3 separate regions of the Homo sapiens genome follow, and all the other regions are linked to region 2. The links are contacts of gene promoters, found by promoter capture Hi-C in blood cells and fetal thymus (Javierre and others, 2016). All regions are on one chromosome and are shown on one strand. Each heading gives the region's core, a stretch centred on a gene start or on the middle of the fragment in contact. The rest is flanking DNA. Distances are from core to core; before and after follow the strand shown. Region 1 has its middle 39 kb from the start of PTH1R. Region 2 holds the start of KIF9 (kinesin family member 9). Region 3 overlaps CCDC12 (coiled-coil domain containing 12).

What was found. The method cuts DNA at HindIII sites, captures the fragments that hold promoters and counts their contacts. A CHiCAGO score of 5 or more calls a contact.
Region 1: a contact is called between a fragment that was not itself captured here and the fragment with the promoter of KIF9 in region 2, in 1 of 17 cell types (neutrophils). The highest score is 7.4, in neutrophils.
Region 3: a fragment that was not itself captured here is called in contact with the fragment with the promoter of KIF9 in region 2 in 2 of 17 cell types (neutrophils and total CD8 T cells); the score reaches 9.9 in neutrophils.

What each region holds. Positions count from the first base shown.
Region 1 is chr3:46,915,364-46,918,335 of GRCh38, forward strand. No RefSeq gene overlaps it. Among named protein-coding and RNA genes, the nearest start is that of PTH1R, 39 kb to the left of the region's middle. The HindIII fragment of the contact is 4,758 bases long and covers 1-2,972 here.
Region 2 is chr3:47,281,058-47,284,111 of GRCh38, forward strand. KIF9 (kinesin family member 9) reads right to left here and starts at 1,742. Exons shown (of 21, transcript NM_182902.4): 1 at 1,438-1,742. It overlaps KLHL18 (kelch like family member 18), which reads left to right and starts at 1,887. Exons shown (of 10, transcript NM_025010.5): 1 at 1,887-2,037. The coding sequence starts at 1,909. RefSeq lists enhancers at 1,066-2,265, 1,481-1,870. The HindIII fragment of the contact is 6,231 bases long and covers 1-3,054 here.
Region 3 is chr3:46,940,122-46,943,197 of GRCh38, forward strand. It overlaps CCDC12 (coiled-coil domain containing 12), which reads right to left. Exons shown (of 7, transcript NM_001277074.2): 2 at 877-944. Among named protein-coding and RNA genes, the nearest start is that of CCDC12, 35 kb to the right of the region's middle. RefSeq lists enhancers at 1-177, 178-677. The HindIII fragment of the contact is 9,713 bases long and covers 1-3,076 here.

The DNA of each region.
Region 1 (2,972 bases), core at 8-2,507, 370 kb before region 2:
GGAACGTCACACAAATGGCTCATACTCTATTTCTTCCGTGACTTGCTTCTTTCAACATCTATCCATTTGTTGCACATGACTGTAGCTCTTCTCACAGCTATGGAACATCACACTTTCAGAATGACAACTTATTATTACCACATTCTGGCTTTGATTTAGTGTGTGTGTGCACACATGTGCCCGTGCTATTACAAACAATGCTTCTACAAGCATTTCTGTCCCTGTCTCCTGGTGTACATGTGCAAGTTTTCTAGTGCACTAAGAGCGCAACTGATGGGTCCCAGCGTGCACATGTTCAACTTTCCCAACGTGGTTACACATTTCACACTCTTATGGCTGTGGGTGAGAGGTCCCACTGCTCCACAGTACAGTGGTGTAGCTAATGACACTTCTGAAAGTCTCCCTTGCCTGGCCTCACTCCTGCCACCTCCACTTTCTTTTGTTGATCCTGTGCTTGATAGAGCTTTTCTAGTCCCATTAATCTTTGTTTCTATTAATTTATGAGGCAGGGTCTCACTCTGTCGCTCAGAACTCCCAGGCTCACATGATCTCCCACCTCAGCCTCCCAAGTAGCTGCGACTACAGGCAGGCACCACCCCGCCTGGCTAATTTTTTTATTTTTTATTTTTGTAGAAGACGGAGTTTCACCATTTTGCCCAGACTGGTCTTGAACTCCTGGGCTCAAGCAATCTGCCTGAGACTCGAGCAAATTCAGCCTTCTCAAGTGCTGGGATTACAGGCATGAGCCACTGCACCCAGTCGGCTTCAGGTTTTTTTAAACTCAGCAAACTGAGTTTAAAGGAAAAAAAAAAAGAAAGAAAAGCAGTCTAATACCTTGCTATTACTGATATATCTGGATTCAACTACTCAATCCACCTTTTCTCTCTGCTTTCTTTTGGATAGTTACTTTTTTCCCATTCTGGTTTTTTTTTTTTTTTTTCCTCTCTCATCTCCTCTGAAAGTGGTACACTCTGTTTCTACTCTTTTCAGGTTACCCCAGAAATGTCAAGAGGCCTGTTTCCTAGTCTTATCCCTCTTCCTAAGTGAGCGTCTTCAAGGACTGTAACCCCAACCACCTCCTACCTCTGAACTTACATACCATTGTTGTTATGTATTCTAAATAGCCCCTGCTTTACCCCACAACACATTTTTGTTTTACAAGGTCAGTGCTTATTTACATTTATACTTCCTTTCTCTGGACTTTCCATCTGGGATTGTGCCCCTCAGTCTGAAAATATCCTTTATGATTTTTTTAAAAGGAGAATGCTTATTTCATTTTTAAAAAACAACTTTATACATATACAGCCCACCCATTAAAGTGTACAATTCAATGGCTCTTGGCATATTCAGCATATTCACAGATTTGTGCAACCACAATCACTTTTAGAACATTTTCATTACCCCAAAATAGATTTTCATTTAGTGAGAGTCTGCTGGTGACAGAATCCCTGACTTCGTTGGTCTAAAAACATCTTAGGCCAGGTGCGGTGGCTCAGGCCTGTAATCCCAGCACTTTGGGAGGCCAAGGTGGGCAGATCACTTGAGTTCAGGAGTTCAAGATCAGCCTGGGCAAAATAGTGAGACCCCATCTCTGCAAAAAAACAAAAAACACGTCTCATATTTTCCCTGAGTATGCAATTCTAGGATGACAACTTTCTTTCATTCCTGTTTACACTGGTTATAGCTGAGATATCTGCTGCTATGTTGCTCCTCAAAAGGTAGTATGTCCTTTCTCTCTGATTTTAAGGTATTTTCTTGGTCTTTGTGCTCTTTAATGTTATTACAATGTGATTAGGTATGTGGTAGTTTTTAAATAAGTCCACAAATTCTTACACAGTCCTCCCTTCAGGAAGTGGAAGCTAATTCTTCTAAGTGTCGACTGGGCGTAGTGACTTGCTTCTAACAAACAGAATGTAGCAGAATATCACTTCCAAGCCCAGATCATAAGAAAGCCCCACAACGCTCCCTCCTGCCTTCTTTCTTAGACTGCCACTCTGGGAAAGCCACCTGCCATGTCTTGAGAACACACAGGCCGATGGAGAGGTCCATGTGGCAAGACACAGGGGCCACCAATCAACAGCCCCATGAGTCATCTTGGAAACAGATCCTCCAGCCCCAGTCCAGCCTTCAGATGAGTGCAGCTTCACAACTGACCCCAAGCTAGACTTACCCAGCTAAGCCACTCCTGATTCCTGGCCCACAGAAACTGAGGTAATAAGTGTTTGTTATTTTAAGCCCCCGAGTTTTGGGTAATTTATGTGTAGCAACTGATGATTAATAAAAAGTGTAGAATTTTTTTAAGTAAATTTGCTTACTTAGAATAAACATACAAAAAGGGCATAAAACATGTATACAGTTCAATGAATATTCATAAAGTAAAAATACCTAATCATCACCCAGATGAAGAAACAGAACATTTGGATGTATAGTTCTTCCTATTAACCTGCCTGAGACTTACTGGTCTTCTTGAATCTGTGAATTGGTGATTTTTTCTGGAAAGTTCTCAGCCAGTTTTTAAATATTGCTTCTGCCTCATTTTCATTTTTTTTTTTTCCCACCTGGAACTCCGTCACTTTACGTTGGATCTCTTCATTCTACTCTCCATGTCTCTCAGCCACTTGCTTTACATTATCACTGTTTATCTTGCTGGGCTGCATTTTGGAAAACTTCAGATCTAGCTTCCCATTCACTAATTGTCTCTTCACCTTTGTCTAATTCACAGATACAAGGTTTTTAATTGCCATAATACACTATAGTGCTATATAGTCACTCCTTATCTATGGGGGGATGTTCCAAGACCTCCAACCCCAGTGGATGCCCGAAATGGTGGCGAGTACTGAACCCTATATATGCTGTGTTTCCCCTTTACATACATACCTATGATAAAGTTTAATTTATAAATTAGGCACAGTAACAAATTAACAATAACTAATGAGAAAACAATTATAACAATACACAGTAATAAAAGTTAT
Region 2 (3,054 bases), core at 492-2,991:
TTTTGAATCCCCTCACAATGTCCAGGGCAGAGCCCAGCACAGAGTAGGTATTCAGGAAATGGCGGTGGTTGGTGATGGTAATGGCTGGAAGTCAGAGGGCAGCTGAATCTTCATATGTGGGTCTATCTTCAGTCACTACTGAGAGAGTCCCAAGGGGCATATGATGTCACTCCCCTTCCATGACAACTCCAACCAAAGCCCACAGCCCTTCCAGGAGGACACTTGGTTTCCAGGTGCAAAAATCCACATCCAGCACCTCACCACACGCTTTTTTTGTTTTTGTTTTTGTTTTTTGTTTATTTGTTTTTGTGACAGGGTCTCACTCTGTCACCTAGGCTGGAGTGCAGTGAAACAATCTCGGTTCACCGTAGCCTCCACATCCTGGGTTCAAGCGATCCTCCCACCTCAGCCCCGCAAGTAGCTAGGACTACAGGCGTGCACCACCACGCCCGGGTAATTTTTGTATTTTTCGTAGAGACAGGGTTTCGCCATGTTGCCCAGGCTGGTCTTGAACTCCTGAGCTCAAGCAATCCGCTCACCTCAGCCTCCCAAAGTGCTAGGATTACAGGCGTGAGCCACGGCGCCCGGCCCCCTCCCTTTCTCCCTCAGGACCTTGTGGGGAATGTCTCTCCTTGGGGAACCACCCTTTGATATTTCTGGTATAACAAAGCAAGTCTCTGAATGGCCACCAGGAGACTTCTGTGTTAAGGCGCTCGAGGTTTCCTCATTTGTCTTTAGTGGGAATGAACAGAATTGGCAACAAGCAGCCATGAAGACTAGACAAGAGGAAAGGGAGCGTTTGGTGGGGTGGAAGGCACCAGGTGGGTCCCTATCTTCCAGTGCTCCCGTCCAGATGAGGGGCTGTCATGGGGAACCCTCATAGCTACCCGTAGCGGCAGCACCAACACCCGAATCCAAAACACTGGGTCCAACTGCACCTGGCCTTGGCTGAACAAGACTAGGATGCAGGCAAAACTAGACTTTCTCCTTTTTCTCACCCAATGTGCCGGACCCCCGCGTGGAGCCTGGGCGGCAGTGGGCTTTGGACCCATTCCGGTCCCTCTCTGGAGAGGTTTCCTCACCTGTAACACGAAGGGCTCCGACTGGTGATCCCAAAGCCCCCTCTAGTTCGAAAACTGACTAGTACGGAAGAGTCCAGACGACCTCTGGCTCCCTGCCTCACGGCCTCTATGTCCTGGACGCGACGTGGGACCCCTTTGTGGGACCAATGAACATTAGCTCCGAAGACCGTAAGCCGCGGTCAGGTTGAAAGGACTCCCGCGACGTCGAGCCCTCCTTCGCCTGGGTTTCAGAGATGAGCGACCCAGCTGGGAACCCCCAGATAAAGCGGTTTTTGGACCCCAGCCACTTTCAGCAGTCCGGGCGCACACCCTTTTCCCGTCTCCCCACTCCCACCGGCGAGCAGCCCCTGCTCACCGTTCACCAGGCAGCGACGCTCCCGGGACGCGACTGCCGCAACCGAAACCACCTGCACTCCCCACGCGGGGCTGCCTGGCTGTGTACATAGTCGCCATGGCAACGGGTCGCTTCCGGGGATTCCGGAAGTGTCGGGGTGGCGGAAATGAAGTCCGAGGTCCTACGTCGAGGATACGGGTGAGGTCATGGCCGAATCGGGAAGACGAGAGATGGGGCCGATTGATCTAGAAAGACTTCGGCGGATGCACATGCGAAGTCAAGGTCGAGATAGCGAGGGAACGAAGGCCGCACATGAACCAGGAAGCGGAGTGGCGGGGCTTCCGGCGCCGAGGAGATTCAACTACGGCGGCCGCGGAGGCCCGTCCGATTGCTGCTCCGCGCTCCGAGCGGCTGTCGGCGTGCGCTATCGCCCCGCCCTGGTTAGTGTCTAGCCGGCCGGCGAGGCCTGCGCAGTTGCAGCGGCCGGGGAAGATGGTGGAGGACGGCGCGGAGGAGCTGGAGGATCTGGTGCACTTCTCCGTGTCTGAGTTGCCTAGTCGCGGCTACGGCGTCATGGAGGAGATCCGGCGGCAGGGCAAGCTGTGCGACGTGACCCTCAAGGTACCGCGGACTGGGCGGCAGCGGGCTGAGGGAAAAGGGGTCGAGCGGGGAGTAAAAAGGGGCGGGGGACAGAGAAAGAGAGGTCTAGCAGGGAGAGGGGTGGGGAGAAGAGGTGTGAGGGGGGCCGAGTAGTGGGGAGAGAGGTGCCGAGCAAAAGGGGATCGGGGCCGAGTGGGGAGAGGAAGAGGACAACCTTTCAGCCCTTGAAAGGAAAGGTTGAGAGGTGCGCCGCTTAGGCCCTTGGAGTGGGAGACACGGGTGACAGCCTCCTTTTTCTGTCATGCAGACAAGAGAAAATGGACTTACCTTCTATGGAGGCAGGGGCGGTGGCCGGCTCCACATGCTGATGGGCACCACTGAAGAACCTTCTCTTGTCACTACAGATATTTCTTTGTGCCTGTCGAACTTGGCTGTGCTGTTCTAGAAGAGAAGGCTTCTCCTTAGGAATCATTGCCCTTAATTGTTGAATTACTACTTTGTCTCTTAAGAGCTTTTAAAATCTTCTCTGGAAAATTTTTGAGGTGGGAAGCCACCCTGCCCCATACTGGAAGGCACCACTCACCACCACAAAGGTCCCCGGGGCTGGGCCTGCTGGCCGCGTGGGGAGAGGGATGCTGACTGATATTAAGAGGGAAAGATATCTTAACCACCTGTTCCCCACCAGCATTCTGGTCGCTAGAGCCAGCCTCCCTCCTGTGCCTGGGTCTTTTCATGAGGAAGAGGCATGCTGTGCTGCTGCCTGGCCAAGCCACCGAACCATGTGGAGACGTCCGGTTGGGGAGATGATCAGTGGGGCTCCCTGTTGGGCTTTAGCTGGAAAGCTCTCAGCATCTGTGCGTGATCCCTGTTTAAAAAACAAACAGGGCAGGCATGGTGGCTCACACCTGTAATCCCAGCACTTTGAGAGGCGAGAGGATCACTTGAGTGGGGGAATTGGAGACCAGCCTGGGCTATGTAGGGAGACCCTGTCTCTACAAATAATAAAAAATTGTCTGGGCATGGTAGCCTGTGCCCGTA
Region 3 (3,076 bases), core at 103-2,602, 340 kb before region 2:
TGCTGACACGGGAGTGGTAGTCAGACACTCTGCTCACAAAGATCAGCAGCACAGCTTTGCCTCGCTCACCCCACACACTGGTTCCGGCAACAGTTTCCAGGCTCCAGATTTTTGGGAGGCAAAGCAGCATCTGAGGCTCTGTGGAGGTTGCAGCCCTCAAGACTGCGGGGGAAGACCTTGTGCCTGCAATCACGAGGGAAGTGTACCCAAGACCCTCACGTGTGCTGTGTTTAGGCAACTTAAGTGGACCCAACCAGATGAGAGTATTCGACAAAATAAGATAAATACTACAGAGGGAAATGAAGCCAGAGGGACACAGACAACGAGAAAGGCGCCCTTTGAGCTGAACTCTATGTGAAGACCCAGACATCAAAGGTATAGGAGAGATGAGAAGGACCTCCAGGCTGAGAGGACGGACAAAAGACTGGTCAGGAAATGCTGAGTGGCCAGAGGTGGCAAGGGCCGACCACAAAGGGCTCTGGCTAGAGGGAAACCAGAGGAGGTTGGATGAGGCTAGATGGTCCAGGCAGAGCTTCACATGCCAAGTGCAGAAGGGGCACTTACTCAGTAGGCAATGGAGAACCACGCCACAAAAGGTGTATGAGAAGGGTAAAAAGGCATAATGTAAGGGCTAGAAAGAAAATGCTGGGGGCTGAGTAACAGCCAAATGGAAAATGAGGGAAAGGAGGCAGAGAAGGCCTCGACAAGGGCCTTCTGAGATGTTGAGATTTTAAGGTCTGAACAGGACAGCCATGGGCAGAAAGAAGAGGGGAGGGAACAGGGCAGACACTGAACAGAGTTGGGAGGACCCAGAGACTGGGAGACCGATGAGTGCTGGAGGAGAGAGCAGACCCTGGAGCTGCACACGGGCATTACCTGTGCTTCTCGCCTTCTTCCTCCTCTTCTCTGAGATGCTTGGTCTTTGGCTCCCCATCTTCCTTGTCCTGCAAAGAAAGGGAGAAAACCACCAGCTCAGTTGAAAGCTCCTACTTCCAGTCCACGTGGCCCAGGGAGCTAAAGAACAGGACATCTCAGAAGGGGGGCACCTGGCAGGGCCCAGCTTGGTGTCCCAGACTCCAACAGGGTACACGCCTGCTGCATCTCATAGGCACAACTGGAGCCTCATTGCCTGTGCAGAATTTAAAAATCCATAACTCTTGGCTGGGCGCGGTGGCTCATGCCTGTAATCCCAGCACTTCAGGAGGCCGAGGTGGGCGGATCTCGAGGTCAGGAGATCGCAACCATCCTGGCTAACACGGCGAAACCCCATCTCTACTAAAAACACACAAAAAAATTAGCTGGGCGTGGTAGTGGGCGCCTGTAGTCCCAGCTATTCGGGAGGCTGAGGCAGGAGAATGGCGTGAACCTGGGAGGCAGAGCTTGCAGTGAGCCGAGATCAAGCCACTGCACTCCAGCCTGGGCGACAGAGCGAGACTCCATCTCAAAAAAAAAAAAAAGCAACAAAAAAAGTCCGTAACTCCAGCCCAGTCCCAGGTACCTGGTAGCCCTTAGAGAACACTCACAGAAAGAGCTGGATGGCTTTAGGTGGTGAGAAATGCAGCCACTTGGTGCCATGGAGGGGCCATGCTGGCAGGCCAGCAGTCACCTTCATGGGTCTAGACAGAACCACCTGCTAAGCTAGGAAAGACTGGGGAAAGAAGTTACCAGCAACCAGGGCAGGATGAGAGCTCAGGCCTCCTGAGACACCTTTCAGGCCAGAGTCCTCTCCAGAAATACCTATTTGATTCGCTTTAGAAGTAACATGAACTAGGACCAGGCTTGCAACAAGATTCACTGCCTAGGCCTATGCTATATTCAGGGAGACAGAGGCAAGGGGAATTAGTCTGAAGTTTCCATGAAAATTTTCTTAATCTGGTTCTTTTGACTTCCCACCAACTGCACCTCTTTTTGAAGTCTACAGAGTCATGTTCATCTCAACCTTGACATGTTATGCTTGTTCTCAGGTGCACTGGGGGCCACAACAGAAGGAAACTGCCATACTGCTTCCACCTGAAGCAGAAAATGTCTTCCTGGACTTTATCCTTTATTATGTGATTACCTCTGTTAGGTCAGCCTGCCTGTGGACAAACTGACGCAGGGCGTGTGTGCACATGCACAAATTCGTGTGACCACACCTGGGGCCCAGGGCATGGACTGAGAGGCCCCAAGACAGAGCTGTCGTGGGTCTCCCTGCATGCCAGGGTTGGCACTCCAGAAGGTGACAATGCTCACTTCACTATGGCAGCGTCCTGCCTTTGACTCTCGCAGAGCAGTGTTCTAAGAGAGATCTGTGAGCTCCTTCCATTGGGAGCCTGCTCTGGTGGACACAGAATGCGCTGGAGCCTGCATATAAATTATAAGTAAAACAGCTACTTGAACTACCTTTCCTAGACATTTATTTATGCCATTGACAACTGCCTTCCTAAGAATGGTATCTGCTTTATGTGGAGACTGCAGGCATCAACCAGACCCTGCCATTCCTTGGCCACACAACCTCCGGGGAGCAGACTACCAAAACCAGGTCGGAGGCCTGGCCCAGAGAAAGGCTTCTGTCATGAGAACAGATCAACATGCCCCCCACCCCAACTCAGGGCAGCTCATCTCATGGCAACGAGGCAGCGAGAACAAAATAACTGACCAAGTGACAGCAGCTACACGAGAGAGGTCAACATGGAACGTGGTTCTTGGGCGATGGGTGAGAGGTTTCCTACTGAGAGATGGGCTGGGCAGAATTGGGTGATACAGCATAGGGGGAGAGAAGTGGGAAGGGCATTCCCGGTGGGAAGCAGAGCTTGAACAAAGGCAGGGTGTGGTCTGAAGAGCATGCAGGTGACTGGGGTTGGGGGAGGGGGTGACAATGATTGCCAGGTAAGACAGTCAAGGCAGGCAATGGCCGAACACAGAGGGCTCTGGCCGGTGTTCTTAAGCAATGGAGAAACCGAGGAGAGACTGGAGAGAGTTCACTGACCTCTGCTGGGGAAGGCAGGCCCTGGGGTGGACAGGCAGATGCTTGGTGATGGCCAAAGAGGGAAGGGAGAACAGAGTATAAATGCTTCACTGAGAAACAAGTCAGGAT